2 separate regions of the Homo sapiens genome follow, and region 1 is linked to region 2. Evidence: promoter capture Hi-C in human tissues and cell types (Jung and others, 2019). All regions are on one chromosome and are shown on one strand. Each heading gives the region's core, a stretch centred on a gene start or on the middle of the fragment in contact. The rest is flanking DNA. Distances are from core to core; before and after follow the strand shown.

Region 1 (4,325 bases), core at 99-2,598, 710 kb before region 2:
CAGCTTCTATCTCTGGTTCTCAGATAAGGAACCAGCTCCTTCTGGGAGCTGAGAGCCGCACCCCAGGTCTCCTTGCCACTCCTGGGCTACCTGTTTTCTCTTTCCTCATATCCAGGGCTGATCACTCACCAGGTTCCCTCTTAGAATCATTTGCCACTTCACTTCATTTTCCTCTCTTCTCCCCTTTCTGCAGGATGAACACTTCCCCAGGGGTCAATCTGTGCACGCTCAGTCCAGGGGCTGGGTAAAGACAAAGTTTTTTGTTTGCTGTTGTTCACTTGTTTATTTAAATTTATTTATTTTGAGATGGAGTCTCGTTCTGTCACCCAGGCTGGAGTGCAAGGCGCGATCTCGGCTCACTGCAACCTCCGCCTCCCGGGTTCAAGCAATTCTCTGCCTCAGCCTCCTGAGGAGCTGGGATTACAGGTGTGCACCACCATGCCCGGCTAATTTTTGTATTTTTAGTAGAGATGTGGTTTCACCATCTTGGCCAGGCTGATCTTGAACTTCTGACTTCGTGATCCACCTGTCTCAGCCTCCCAAAGTGCTGGGATTACAGGCGTGAGCCACTGCGCCCCACCCTCACTTGTTTATTTACTTGTTTTGTAAACATTATTTACTGAGCATGATCAAACTGCTAGACTGGAGAGGCTGCTGCAATCTCCTCCCTCTGCCCCCGCCATTTCCTGGTACCCATCCTTGCTGGTGGTGTCTGCAATCAGCGGGGCCCTGGCTGAGTTCACGGGAAAGGAAATGGCTCATTGCTTCAGCCTTTAGACCGGGGGGCAGGGAGGGCCTGTCGGGAGGCCGCCTAGTCAGGGGCGTGTCAGAGGCCAGAGGGGCCGGGGCCCAGCAGCTGGGGCTTGGTAAGCTCTGGAGCCTGGGCTCCAGGCCAGCTCGCTGCCAACCTCCACCTGAGACCACCCCACCCCCAACCCCCTTCCTTCTCTCCCCTGCTGCCGAGGCGCGCCCTTCCGGAGTGAAACTTTGGTTTCTCACGACCCGGAAGGCTTGAAGCAAACCTGCAATTACTCACTGCCTGGTCTGTGCGGGCTGCAGCTCTCAGACTCAGGATGAGGTGGCGGTAGGTGGGGTGGGGCTCTTGGGACCCTTTTACCCCTTCGTGCTGCTGGCTGGGGGAGGCCACTAAAGTCTGCGCGCTGCCTTCCACGCGTTCTCCAGACACTTTCCAAATCCCTGCGGACACTACCTTATAAACAGATACTGGAATTTTCAAAGTACTGTCATGCTGTTTGGGACCAGAAATTCCCTCCCATGAGGGTTGGATATGAAGCCAGTTTGGAGGGGGAAGCTGAGGGTGCATGCCCCTGGATCTACCAAAGCCTTCTCTTCAGTCTGGGAGGTTTTTTTTCTTTTTCTTTTTCTTTTTTGAGACAGAGTCTCACTCTGTCGCCCAGGCTGGAGTGCAGTGGTGTGATCTCAGCTCACTACAACCTCCACCTCCCAGGTTCGAATGATTCTCCTGCCTCAGCCTCCCGAGTAGCTGGACGACAGGCGTGCGCCACCACACCTGGCTACTTTTTGTATTTTTAGTAGAGACAGGGTTTCACCATGGGTTTCAGAGGGTGCAGTGGCTCACGCCTGTAATCTCAACACTTTGGGAGGTCGAGGCAGGTGGATCACTTGAGGTCAGGAGTTCGAGACCAGCCTGGACAACATGGTGAAACCCTGACTCTACTAGAAATACAAAAATTAGCTGGTGGTGGTGGCATGCACCTGTAGCCCCAGCTACTCAGGAGGCTGACTCAGGATAATCAGGAACCCGGGAGGAGGAGGTTTCATTGCTCCAGACTTTGAGACTCCATCTGAAAAAAAAAAAAAAATTAAGCCAGGCAAAGTGGCTGATGCCTGTAATTCCAAAGCTTTGAGTGGCTGAGGTGGGATGATCACTTGAGGCTAGGAGTTCGAGACCAACCTATGCAACATGGCAAGACCACCACACCCCCATCTCTGCAAAAAATTAGCCAGGTGTGGTGGCGCACACCTGTAGTCCCAGCTACTCTAGAGGCTGAGGCGGGAGGGTGGCTTGAGCCCAGGAGTTTGAGGCTGCAGTGAGCTATGATCATGTCACTGCACTCCAGCCTGGGTAACAAAGCAAGGCCCAGTCTCAAGAAAATCAGTTATTTTTGCATATGTATGGCGTACATAAGAACATTTGTTACATGTCTATAATGTAACCTCTCTCTGCTTTGCTTTGCAGCTCTGGCAGGGGCAGGGCAGCAGTGCTATGATGAGGCCACTTGTAATTGGGGGTGTTCATGGGAGGGCCTTTGTTCTCTGAGCACTGAGTGGGCACTGCTGTATCTCCATATGCCTGGGATCCTCATTGGTTCCCCTCCTTTCTCCCAGGCTTGTGCCTCTTTCTTTTACTTGACTTTTTTTTTTTTTCCACCCAGGCTGCCGTATAGTGGTGCCATCTCAGTTCACTGCAACCTCCACCTCCCAGGTTCAAGCAATTCTCCTGCCTCAGCCTCCCCAGTACCTGGGACTACAGGCATGTGCCACCATGCCTGGCCGATTTTTGTATTTTTAGTAGAGACAGGGTTTCACCATGTTGGCCAGGCTGATCTCAAACTCCTGGCCTCAAGTTATCCATTAGCCTCAGCCTCTGAAAATGCTGGGATTACAGGCGTGAGCCCGGCCTTTCTTCTTTTTCTTTTTTCTTTTGTTTGTTTTTTTAGAGACAGGGTCTCACTCTGTCACCCAGGTTGCAATGTAGTGGCATGATCATAGCTCACTGCAGCCCTGAACTCCTGTGCTCAAGTGATCTTCCCACCTCAGCCTCCCAAGTAGCTGGGACTATAGGTGTACATCACCATGCCTGGCTAATTTTTTAATTTTTTTTGCAGATATGGGGTCTTGCTATGTTGCTGAGGCTGGTCTCCAATTCCTGATTTCAAGTGAGCCTCCTGCCTCTGCCTCCCAAAGTACTGTGATGAGCTACTACGCCTGGTCATTGTCCCTCTTTCTCATGACTCTCTGGACATCCCTGGGGTGGAGGGTGGGGCAGGCACACACATCCCTCAACTTCCCAGTGGTTCCACGATGACTAAGCCAGCCCTGTCCCTGAGGCTGGGAGTCTGGAGCTAGGATCCACCCCCATGGCCTCATATCCCAACCTTGAGCCTGGGTTTCTGGTCAGACTGGACGGGCTAGCTCGGTCTCCTTAACTCTCAGAGTTGCCTTGTCCAGGCCCAGCGGGTCCCACACAGCCAGGCACACCCCACCCCACAGGGCTCCTGGGAAATTCTCTGCCCCACCCTCAGGCTGCCTCAGACAGACTGAGGTTACCTGTGATTGTCCCAGATAACCCGAGTGAGCCCATCCTCTGCTCTGGGTGGCTCCCTCCCTGGCAGCTGACCTGTAAATTTTGAAAAGATGGGGACAATGCTCAGCTAGGAGGGATGCTCCTGCTGTCTTCCCTGCTGGCCTGGCCACTCCCCAGACTGGACAGGTCCCTTGGCAGCTCTTCCCAGCAACCCAGGCAGCCCCAAGCCCCCTCTTGCTTGGTGTTCCAGGCCAGTGAGAATCTCACTTCTTCTCCAAAACTTTGTCTTCCAACTCCTGTTTTGTTGTGTTTTGTTTTTTTATTGAAACAGGGTCTCATTCTGTTACCCAGGCTGGAGCTCATGGCATGATCATAGCTCACTGCAGCCTCAAACTCCTAGGCTCAAGCAATTCTTCCCACCTCACCCTCCTGAGTAGCAGGGACTACAGATGTGGGCCACCATGGTCAGCTAATTTAAAAAGTTTTTTTCTTAGGCCAGGCATGGTGGCTCACGCCTGTAATCCCAGCACTTTGGGAGGCCGAGGCAGGTGGATAACAAGGTCAGGAGTTCGAGACCAGCCTGGCCAACCTGGTGAAACCCCTGTCTCTACTAAAAATACAAAAATTAGCCGGGCGTGGTGACAGGCACCTGTAGTCCCAGCTGCTTGGGAGGCTGAGGCAGAGAATTGCTTGAACCCGGGAGATGGAGGTTGCAGTGAGCTGAGAACACTCCACTGCACTTTAGCCTGGGCGACAGAGTGAGACTCTGTCTCAAGAAAAAAAAAATTATATATATATAAATTAGCCAGGCATGATGGTGAGTGCCTGTAATTCCAGCTCCTTGGGAGGCTGAGGTGGGAGAATCACTTGAACCTGGGAGGCAGAGATTGCAGTGAGCCAAGATTGCTCCACTGCACACCAGCCTAGGTAATAGAGTGAAACTCCATCTCAAAAAAGAATTTTTTTTTTTCAGAGATGGGGATCTCTCTGTGTTGCCCAGGCTGGCCTCAAGCAATCCTCCTGCCTCAGCCTCCCA
Region 2 (4,069 bases), core at 1,116-3,615:
CGACCGTTGAGTGGACCCTGAGGCCTGGAATTGCCATCCTCCTGCCGGTGACTCTGACCTTCCAGATCTAGGGGGGCCTGGGGAGCCCCCAATCCAGCCTGGGCACGTCCCCTCCCCTAGGCCACAGCCGAGGTCACAATCAACATTCATTGTTGTCGGTGGGTTGTGAGGACTGAGGCCAGACCCACCGGGGGATGAATGTCACTGTGGCTGGGCCAGACACGGCTTAAGGGGAATGGGGACTGGGGACAGGACCCCCCACCGCCACAGTCACTCAGCCTGTTTTTTGCCCTGACCCCAACCACTCCTCTTTGGAGAGGAGAGCTGGTGTCTGGAATCTGGATGGGCTCTGGCTGGATTTGGGACTAAATATTAGAGGGTTGGGGGTAAACAGGCTGGGGCAGGGCAGCTAAAATCCCCTTTTTTTTTTTTTTTTAAGACAGAGTCTCACTCTGTTGCCTAGGCTGGAGTGCAGTGGCCCAATCTCAGCTCACTGCAACCTCTGCCTCCAGGGTTTGAGTGATTCTCTGGCCTCAGCCTCCCAAGTAGCTGGGATTACAGGCATCTGCCACCACAGTGGGCTAATTTTTGTATTTTTAGTAGAGACGAGATTTCACTGTGTTGGCCAGGCTGGTCTCAAACTCCTGACCTCAAGTAATCCTCCCCCCTCGGCCTCCCAAAGTGCTGGGATTACAGGCATGAGCCACTTTGCCTGGCCTAAAACCCCTTTCTGAAATGTGGGTGGTAAGTTCTGCTCCGTGGAGTGCTCCATAGTTTTGTTTTTTAAATTAGAGACAGGATCTCGCTCTTGTCACCCAGGCTGGAGTGCAATGGTGTGACCTTAGCTCACTGCAGCCTCTAATAACTGGAGTCAAGCGTTGATCCTCCCGCCTCAGCCTCCCCAGTAGCCGGAACCACGGGCACGCACCACCACACCTAGCTTATTTCGAAAAAGTGTTTTTGTAGGAACAGGGTCTCAAAACGTTGCCCAGGCTGGTCTCCAACTCCTAGGTTCAAGCAATCCTCCTCGGCCTCTCAAAATGAGCCACAGTGCCTGGCCAATAAAAGTTTCTTAAATGAATGGATGGGTGGATGAGCTGTGTAAGCGGCACAGCGTCTCTCCTCTGTGTCCAAGTCCTGAGCACACCCTCCCCTCCTGGGACTGAGCTGAGATCTCATCTCGGGGAGGACACTGAAGACCTGTAGGTACTAGGGGTCCCCTCCTAACAGCCCAACTTGCTATCCCCCACCTCCCAACTCCAGAGGGTTCTTTCTCACCCCTCTGCAGCCCCCGCCAGGAAAGGGCTCCCTCCCCAGCACCTAGCCTCAGGGGGCCCCAGTAACTAGAAGAAGGAGGCAGATGTGGTGCTTTTTGTTGTTGTTGTTTTGAGACAGAGTCTTACTCTGTTTCCCAGGCTGGAGTGCAGTGGCTTGATCTTGGCTCACCGCAACCTCTGCCTCCTGGGTTCAAGCAATTCTTCTGCCTCAGCCTCCTGAGTAGCTGGGATCACAGGCACCCGCCACCATGCCCAGCTAATTTTGTGTGTGTGTGTGTGTGTGTGTGTATTTTTAGTAGAGACAGGGTTTCACCATGTTAGCCAGGCTGGTCTCGAACTCTTGACCTCAGGTGATCCGCCTGTCTTGGCCTCCCAAACTGTTGGGATGACAGGCATGAGCCACCACTCCCTGGCCTGGTGCATGTCTTTATAAATAACTGGATGGGCAGGTGGCTTCACACCTCAGTTTGCTCATCCATTCAATGGGGGTTCCACTAAGACAACCGATGTGAAAACTCTTGGAGGGAGACCAGAGCTGGGGGCCGGGGGGCATGATCCTTCCCCCCTACCCCCGCAACCAGCCCATGAGCCTGGGACTACCACACTCCTTTCAGAGACAGCTGGAGCATCAGCAACCTCCCGCCTGGACACACACACACACAAAGAACCCAGGGGCACCTGGCCACTCCCCCGCCCAGGGGAAGGAAGAAAAAGTTATAAAGAAGTTACTAAGTTAACTTCTTTAAGTTACTGGTAACTGCTAGTCTTTGGGGGTGGGGTTTCCAACCCATTCTCCCCATCCTCCAGTGGGGCTGGAGGGCTAAGGACTCCTACAAGGAGGGGAGGCAGGGTAGCCCCCCAATTCCCTGGAGGTGTGTACGGGGGGCTGTGGTGCACCTCGCAGGATGCCCCCCCACACACCCTGTGTCCTGTAGTCCCCCGGCACAGCCAGAGGCCATACAGCCCTTTAGGAGGAGTATTAGTGGGGCACCAGGCCCCCCTGTGACAATAAGGAACCTCCCACAGCCTGCTCCTCCCTCTTCACACCCCCTTGGAGGTAAAAGGAGGGTCGGCCAGCACAGACTCCCAGGCTCCAGAGAGGGGAAGGAAGGGGCAGCAGAGAGGGGTCAGAAGGAGGGAGCTTAAGCCAGGCAGGGTTACTTGTCTCTGTGACTCCTTCCGCCTGGCACATGCTGCCCAGCTATGGGGACCTTTGACCTGTGGACAGATTACCTGGGTTTGGCACACCTGGTTAGGGCTCTGAGTGGGAAAGAGGGTCCTGAAACCAGGCTGAGCCCCCAGCCAGAGCCAGAGCCAATGCTGGAGCCGGTGTCAGCCCTGGAGCCGATGCCAGCGCCGGAGTCGGTGCCAGTGCCGGGACCCAAGGATCAGAAGCGCAGCCTGGAGTCCTCGCCAGCTCCCGAACGCCTGTGCTCTTTCTGCAAACACAACGGCGAGTCCCGGGCCATCTACCAGTCCCACGTGCTGAAGGACGAGGCTGGCAGGGTGCTGTGTCCCATCCTGCGGGACTACGTGTGTCCCCAGTGCGGCGCCACACGTGAGCGCGCCCACACCCGACGCTTCTGCCCACTTACTGGCCAGGGCTACACCTCCGTCTACAGCCACACCACCCGAAACTCGGCAGGCAAGAAGCTGGTCCGGCCTGACAAGGCGAAGACACAGGACACAGGCCACCGCCGAGGAGGAGGAGGAGGAGCAGGTGCCTGCACAGGTGGCTGGGGGGGACCTGTCCGAGGGTAGTGGCTGAGCCCCCCTGTGAAGTAAGATTAGCCCCAGTACCCACCTCCAAGGGTTAGGGGAAGACCTTAGAGAGAGCTTAGAACAGCAGTTGATTTTATTTACGTATTTATTTATTTATCTTGAGACAGGTCTCTTTCTGTTGCTCAGGCTGGAGTGCAGTGGCGCCATCTCGGCTCACTGCAACCTCCACCTCCTGGATTCAAGCGATTCTCCTGCCCCAGCTTCCTGGGTAGCTGGGATTATAGGCGCGCGCCACCACACCCGGCTAATTGCCACCATGCCCGGCTAAATTTTGTATTTTTAGTAGAGATGGGGTTTCACCATGTTGGCCAGGCTGGTCTCAAAACTCCTGATCTCGTGATCCGCCCACCTCGGCCTCCCAAACTGCTGAGATTACAGGCGTGAGCACCGCACCGAGCCAGTTTGTTTATGTATTTATTTATTTATCTTGAGACAGAGTCTCTTTCTGTCACCCAGGCTGGAGTGCAGTGGCATGATCTTGGCTCACTGCAACCTCTGCCTTCCGGGTTCAAGCGATTCTTCTGCCTCAGCCTCCTGAGAAGCTGAGATTACAGGCGCCTGCCACCATGGCCAGCTAATTTTTGTATTTTTAGTAGAGATGGGGTTTCACCATGTTGGCCAGGCTGGTCTCGAACTCCCAACCTCGTGATCCACCCTCCTCAGCCTCCCAAAGTGCTGGGATTACAGGCATCAGCCACCACATCTGGCCCGCAGGGTTATTATAGATGCAGAAAGAAGACTTTTATTTTATTTATTTATCAATTTATTTTTCTTCCTTTTTTTTTTTAATTTTTTTTTTTGAGATAGAGTCTCGCTCTATCCACCCAGGCTGGATGGAGTTCAGTGGTGCGATCTTGGCTCACTGCAACCTCTGCCTCCTGGGTTCAAGCGATTCTCCTGCCTCAGCCTCCCGAGTAGCTGGAATTACAGGCGTGCACCACCATTCCTGGTGTGTTTTTTTTTTCCTCCCATAGAAACAGGGTCTTACTATGTTTCCCAGGCCGGTCTCA

What was found. The method cuts DNA at HindIII sites, captures the fragments that hold promoters and counts their contacts. A contact is called where the count stands out against the background at its distance.
Region 1: a contact is called between a fragment that was not itself captured here and the fragment with the promoter of NANOS3 in region 2, in 1 of the 25 tissues and cell types used here (hippocampus).

The regions. Positions count from the first base shown.
Region 1 is chr19:13,166,847-13,171,171 of GRCh38, forward strand. No RefSeq gene overlaps it. Among named protein-coding and RNA genes, the nearest start is that of IER2, 19 kb to the left of the region's middle. RefSeq lists enhancers at 456-1,083, 2,776-3,276, 3,277-3,777. The HindIII fragment of the contact is 8,994 bases long and covers 1-4,325 here.
Region 2 is chr19:13,874,769-13,878,837 of GRCh38, forward strand. NANOS3 (nanos C2HC-type zinc finger 3) reads left to right here and starts at 2,366. Exons shown (of 2, transcript NM_001098622.3): 1 at 2,366-2,997. The coding sequence starts at 2,481. It overlaps MIR181C (microRNA 181c), which reads left to right; the gene lies at 1-40. MIR181D (microRNA 181d) reads left to right here and starts at 107; the gene lies at 107-243. The HindIII fragment of the contact is 41,747 bases long and covers 1-2,926 here.